Linked DNA regions of Homo sapiens: region 1 is linked to region 2. The links are contacts of gene promoters, found by promoter capture Hi-C in human tissues and cell types (Jung and others, 2019). All regions are on one chromosome and are shown on one strand. Each heading gives the region's core, a stretch centred on a gene start or on the middle of the fragment in contact. The rest is flanking DNA. Distances are from core to core; before and after follow the strand shown.

Region 1 (2,700 bases), core at 145-2,644, 42 kb after region 2:
CGGGGGCGCTAAGGGACAGCTGTTTCAGAAGATAGGGGAAATCAGGCCGGGAGTGGTGTCTCACACCTGTAATCCTAGCACTTCGGGAAGCCGAGGCGGGGGGGGGCGGGGGGGGTTCACCTGAGGTCAGGAGTTCGAGACCAATCTGAACAACGGGGTGAAATCCCGTCTCTACTAAAAATACAATAGCTGGGCGTGGTGGCTCGCATCTGTAGTCCCAGCTACTCAGGAGGCTGAGGCAGTAGAATCGCTTGAACCCGGGAGGCGGAGGCTGCAGTGAGCAGAGATTGCGTCACTGCACTCCAGCCTGGGCGACACAGAAAGACTCCGTCTCAAAAAAAAACAAAAAACAAAAAACACAATGCCTCGGGACTGTCCCGGGAGGTGAGGCCCCCACGATTGGCGAGAAAGGTGGGCAGCCACGAGGGCCTTCTGAAGGGATGAGCCGGGCGGGCGGAGGGGAGGGGTCTGGCAGGCAGGAAATAAAGCGATACTCTCAGACTAGCGGGACGGGGATTGCCATGGGGGTAGTGGGGGATGTCAGGCCCGGCCGGGCCAGCGGTCACCTTGATTGGGGCCATGGCTGCAGCGGCTCTGCTGAAACTGCGGACCCCGCCAGACGCCCACTCTCCTTCACTGTACCGTCTTGCTGCCGCTGCCGCAGACTGACCGCCGGCCCCACCGACGAGTATATAGCCCGCTGAGCGTCTCAGGGCGCACACGCCAGCTAGTCCCATACCCGCCCCACGGCCACTTCCACTCCGCCTCCTGGCTGGTGCCACCGCAGCAGGCGGGGCACCGCTAGCGGCACAGCGGCGACACCCTGCGGAAGGCGGGCCTGGGCCGCCTCCACTGCGCAGGCGCGAGCGGCCACCCGCAGAACAGAGCTTCCGGGACCCACGCCTCGTTTGCACTGGGTGCTGGACAGCCGACGCAACTACAAATGGGGCGGAGCTTTCGGCACTGGAGCAGCTAATTTGCATATAGGAATGAGGTGCGGCTCGGCTTCCATGGGCCTAATTTACAGATAGGGCGGTATTTCTGCCCCTTAACCGAAAGTGGGATACAGAGGACGACGGTGTTAGGCGCCTGTGTAGGAGTAAAATGTGTTTATTTTGCATTCAACGAGAGCTCCTGCATTGCAGCTATTTTGCATATGATTTGCATCTTACGAAGAATTTGTGGCAAAAAAAAGCTGGGCGTGCGCCGTAGGAACCTCCTGCTGAGACGCTTCCGGTAGCGGCGCGTGACCCGACAGGTCTTTCACCTACCTACCTCAGCTCCCACAAACACGAGAAGTTCCAGCAAGTTCGCCACTTCCGGTTCTCCTGGCTATCCAATAGCATCGAGAGGAGCATCCCCGGAAGTGAGGCAGCGGAGGACGACCTTTTTCCGGTTCCGGCCTGGCGAGAGTTTGTGCGGCGACATGAAACTGCTTACCCACAATCTGCTGAGCTCGCATGTGCGGGGGGTGGGGTCCCGTGGCTTCCCCCTGCGCCTCCAGGTACCCGCCGGCGGCAGTCTTCCCTTTTCGGGCGGGATGGTGGGCCGGGGTCCAGTGCTTGCCTAAACTCCTCCGCCCTGCAGGCCACCGAGGTCCGTATCTGCCCTGTGGAATTCAACCCCAACTTCGTGGCGCGTATGATACCTAAAGTGGAGTGGTCGGCGTTCCTGGAGGCGGCCGATAACGTGAGGATCCTTACCCCGCCCCAGCATATCCCGGGGAATGCGGGGCGGGCACACCTCAGCCGGGCTGAGGCGGGAGTTCGGGATGCCCGGAGATAATTTTGGCCTCTTGCCCACAGTTGCGTCTGATCCAGGTGCCGAAAGGGCCGGTTGAGGGATATGAGGAGAATGAGGAGTTTCTGAGGACCATGCACCACCTGCTGCTGGAGGTGAGAAGCGGCCCATCACTTGCTTCCCGGGCCACCTGCCTCCCGCACTGAGGCTGCCAGTGCTCAGCTCTGTCCCTCCCTGCCCGCAGGTGGAAGTGATAGAGGGCACCCTGCAGTGCCCGGAATCTGGACGTATGTTCCCCATCAGCCGCGGGATCCCCAACATGCTGCTGAGTGAAGAGGAAACTGAGAGTTGATTGTGCCAGGCGCCAGTTTTTCTTGTTATGACTGTGTATTTTTGTTGATCTATACCCTGTTTCCGAATTCTGCCGTGTGTATCCCCAACCCTTGACCCAATGACACCAAACACAGTGTTTTTGAGCTCGGTATTATATATTTTTTTCTCATTAAAGGTTTAAAACCAAAAGCGGTTTCTCTTTGCAGCAAATATACATTAAAATAGAGTCTCTGTACAGCCAAGGGCTCTGGGCCCTGGCTTGCCCCATGTCCCTGCGCCTCCCTGGCCAAACCCAAAAATAAATATAGTGTTATTGCTCTGCAGGGCATAGAGGCAGTGCTCTCCTACCCCCTGAGGAGGCTCGTTGGGAGCTGATGGGGAAGCCCTGGCCACCCCAGGGGTCCAGGGGCTGGAGTCTGCTTGGAGTTATTGCTTCAAGGGGGGACACTAATGCCCAATGCAAATGATGAGAGGAGGAGCGAAGGGGGCATGGGCCTTTGCTCTCCAAGTCCCACTCTGCTTTGAAGAGGGGGTAGGATTAAGCAGCAGCAAAAGCATCACCCACTGGGAGACTCTGGCCTCCATCCCCTTCCCTCCCTGAGATAGGTTTCTGCCTCCCACGCATCC
Region 2 (2,716 bases), core at 33-2,532:
CGTCAGGTGGCCTCGCCTGCCCCCAGCCACCCCAACCCCGTTGGGATGTGGTGTGCGCTCACCCAGGATGAGGTGCAGCTTGGCATCCGTCTGGAAAGCGTAGTGCAGCGTGACCAGGAAGGGCGCCTGGCGCACCAGCTCCAGCACCGAGCGCTCGGTGCGCGTGTGCTCTTGCGTCTTGGCGCGCTGCACCAGCGCCGCCTTGCGCAGCACCTTCATGGCGTACAGCTTCCCCGCGTCGTGCCCGCCCGCCTTCCGCACCAGGAACACCTTGCCGTAGGCTGTGGGAGCAGCGAGTGGGTGGAGGGTGGGCTGTGAGCGGGAGATTGGTGCAGGCTTGGGGGGTGGGGGCGATGCCAACCCAGGAGGGTGTGCAAATGAGGCGAAGGAGCTGGGGCAACAGGCAGGTGTGCAAAAAGCTGGCAGAGCCTTCTAAGGAAAGGGTGTGCACACCCCGGGAGGGTGCCCAGCAAAACCAGGGAAAGGATGTGCAAACCAGGCTGGGGAGCATGCATCTCCAGGGGGCCTGCTGCGAGGCATGGGGGCGGGGCATATGCAAACCTGCGAGAGATCAGATGGATGTGAAAAGATGCCAGTGCAAGGAAGGGAGGCAGAGGTGTGCACCTGGCTGGGGAAGGGATGCGCAAACCAGCGCTGGGGCATTTGCAAAATGTGGGAGGGGGATCCCATATTGGAAGAAAGGGAGGAGCTATGCAAATCACTTGAGAGGGGCGCCAGTCCCCCTCCCCAGGGTGTTGGCAAATCCAGGGGGGTATGCACGCACAGGACCGTGGAGGGAGGAGTGATGTCAATGTGGAGTGCCCTGGAAGTGGGCATGCAAACTCTGGCGAGGCAGGGCGGGGCAGGCAAGGCAGGCTGTGCCGGGAAAGGGTGGGGGGCCTGCTCAGTGGCCTGGCCCAGGCCCAAGAGTGAGCAGGCAGGAGGTCAGGGGCACCGCGCCTGGGACGCCTGCCCGGTGGATGGGGGTCCTCACCTCCCGTGCCCAGCACCTTGAGCAGCTCGAAGTTCTCCACGCTCACCTTCTCCTCGTGCCCGGTCAGGTTGGCTGTGGGCACAGGGGGCGAATGAGCCCAGCCGGTCCATGACCCGTCCCGGCCTGCCCCGGGCAGCCGCAGTCAGGCCCCACACCCACCTTCTGTGATCCGCAGCTCCACGGCGCAGCTCTCATCGTCGTCCTCGTCCCCCATGGCGGGCGGGTCGCTGGGGCCCGCGCGGCTCGGGCTCCGGGCGGCGCCGGTTACATGGCGGCTCCGGCCGGGGCGGGCGCTTCCTGGTGCCGCCTCCGGGGCCGAGGCGGGCGCCGGCACCGCCTCCCGGCTCCCCGCCCTGCGCGGCCTGAGTCAGGCGGCTGGAACGTGACAGCGCCGGGCTGCCGGTGGGCGGCCGGCTGGGGCCGCCCTGTCTCCCGAGCCCCCAGGCCAGGCCTCAGGGCCGTGCGCTCCGGGACCTTACTCGACTCTCCCGGGAACTGGAAACACCCCGTGGGAGCCATCCCTGAGCCCGTGGGTAACCTGGAGCCTCTGGGGCATTAGTCCCCAAGCCAGGAATCTGCCCGGGAATGCCGGCTGCAGCCAGTGGCTGGAGGACATTAGGAGTCTGTGCCCCAAGGTGGGGGACGAGGTGCCTGGTGCTGGGCAGGCTGAGAGGGGGTCTGGATCCTGGAAGTCACCCAACTCTCAGGCAGTGGAGCCCACCCCACTCCATCGTCCTGGGGGTGGCCAGCAGGGCCCCTCTCCCCAGAGGACTGGCCTTTGCAAGGAGGAGCCTCATCACCAAGAGGGGGCTGGAGCCCGGCCTGGGACCCCATGGCAAGGAGAGGAGTGGCCAGTTTTCTGACCAGCTTTCTGTCGGGGGTGCCTGCAGAAGCACTTCAGCCCCCAGTCACCGTGCAGAGCCCACCAGGTGCCATGCGCACCTCACGTGTTCTGCTCCTGTTGTCTCCTAGCCTGGTGCAGTACCCAGCTTAGAGCCCTGAGCAGGCCTCAAGAAGAGATGTCAGTGCCACACGGGGCTGCCCCCTCTCCCCATGAGGCCCAGGGCCCCTGCTGACTGGTCCTCCTGAGCCCCTGCTCCGTCTTCTTCCTGCCTTTCCCTTCCTGACCACCAATGGGGCCACCTAGCAGAGTGGGACAGCCATGAGGCCCCACACCCTGAGGCCGGTGGGAGGGGCTCTCAGCTCCTCTGCCAGCTGGAGAGGCCAGGGTGTCCACCCCACGCCCCTGTCCTGTGAAGCCCTGGCTGAGAGGAGGAGGAACTCAAGCTGCTGCAGGTCACACCTGGGAGGCCGGACGGACCGTCCCTCCCAGCTCTGCACCCCCCAAGTTCAGGCTGCCTTATCTCAGCCCTGGGCAGCTCCACCCTCCCCTGGGTGGCCCCAGGTACCCTGACTCACATCCTGCACCCCAGCCGAATTGCCCCGCCTCTCAGGCATCAGGCTAGAGGCCCTGGTCAGAGAGCCAGCGTCCCTCCCACCTCTCCTGGCAACCCCTGGCATTAAGTGATGCCCCGCCAGGCTGAGAACTCCCTGGGGAGGGGGCTCAACCTCAAGGAGGGAGGGGAGATGAGTAGGAGGAGGATGTGAACAGAGAGAAGACAGTGCCCTGGGAGAGGGTGGGGGCGGGGCAACAGGGGCTTCACTGCCCCACACCCCTGAGCCCAGATCTTAGACCCCAATCCCTGCTGGCTACCCAGGATG

What was found. The method cuts DNA at HindIII sites, captures the fragments that hold promoters and counts their contacts. A contact is called where the count stands out against the background at its distance.
Region 1: the fragment with the promoter of TRMT112 here is called in contact with the fragment with the promoter of RPS6KA4 in region 2 in 5 of the 25 tissues and cell types used here (bladder, dorsolateral prefrontal cortex, pancreas and 2 more).

The regions. Positions count from the first base shown.
Region 1 is chr11:64,316,253-64,318,952 of GRCh38, reverse strand. It overlaps TRMT112 (tRNA methyltransferase activator subunit 11-2), which reads left to right and starts at 1,394. Exons shown (of 4, transcript NM_016404.3): 1 at 1,394-1,504; 2 at 1,588-1,689; 3 at 1,806-1,895; 4 at 1,985-2,493. The coding sequence starts at 1,427. The coding sequence ends at 2,092. ESRRA (estrogen related receptor alpha) reads right to left here. Exons shown (of 7, transcript NM_004451.5): 7 at 2,210-2,700. PRDX5 (peroxiredoxin 5) reads right to left here and starts at 832. Exons shown (of 6, transcript NM_012094.5): 1 at 567-832. The coding sequence starts at 737. RefSeq lists a silencer at 768-927 and enhancers at 1,018-1,217, 2,375-2,700. The HindIII fragment of the contact is 15,117 bases long and covers 1-2,700 here.
Region 2 is chr11:64,357,728-64,360,443 of GRCh38, reverse strand. RPS6KA4 (ribosomal protein S6 kinase A4) reads right to left here and starts at 1,282. Exons shown (of 17, transcript NM_003942.3): 1 at 1,154-1,282; 2 at 995-1,066; 3 at 63-281. The coding sequence starts at 1,208. RefSeq lists an enhancer at 730-1,257 and a silencer at 1,007-1,496. The HindIII fragment of the contact is 21,233 bases long and covers 1-2,716 here.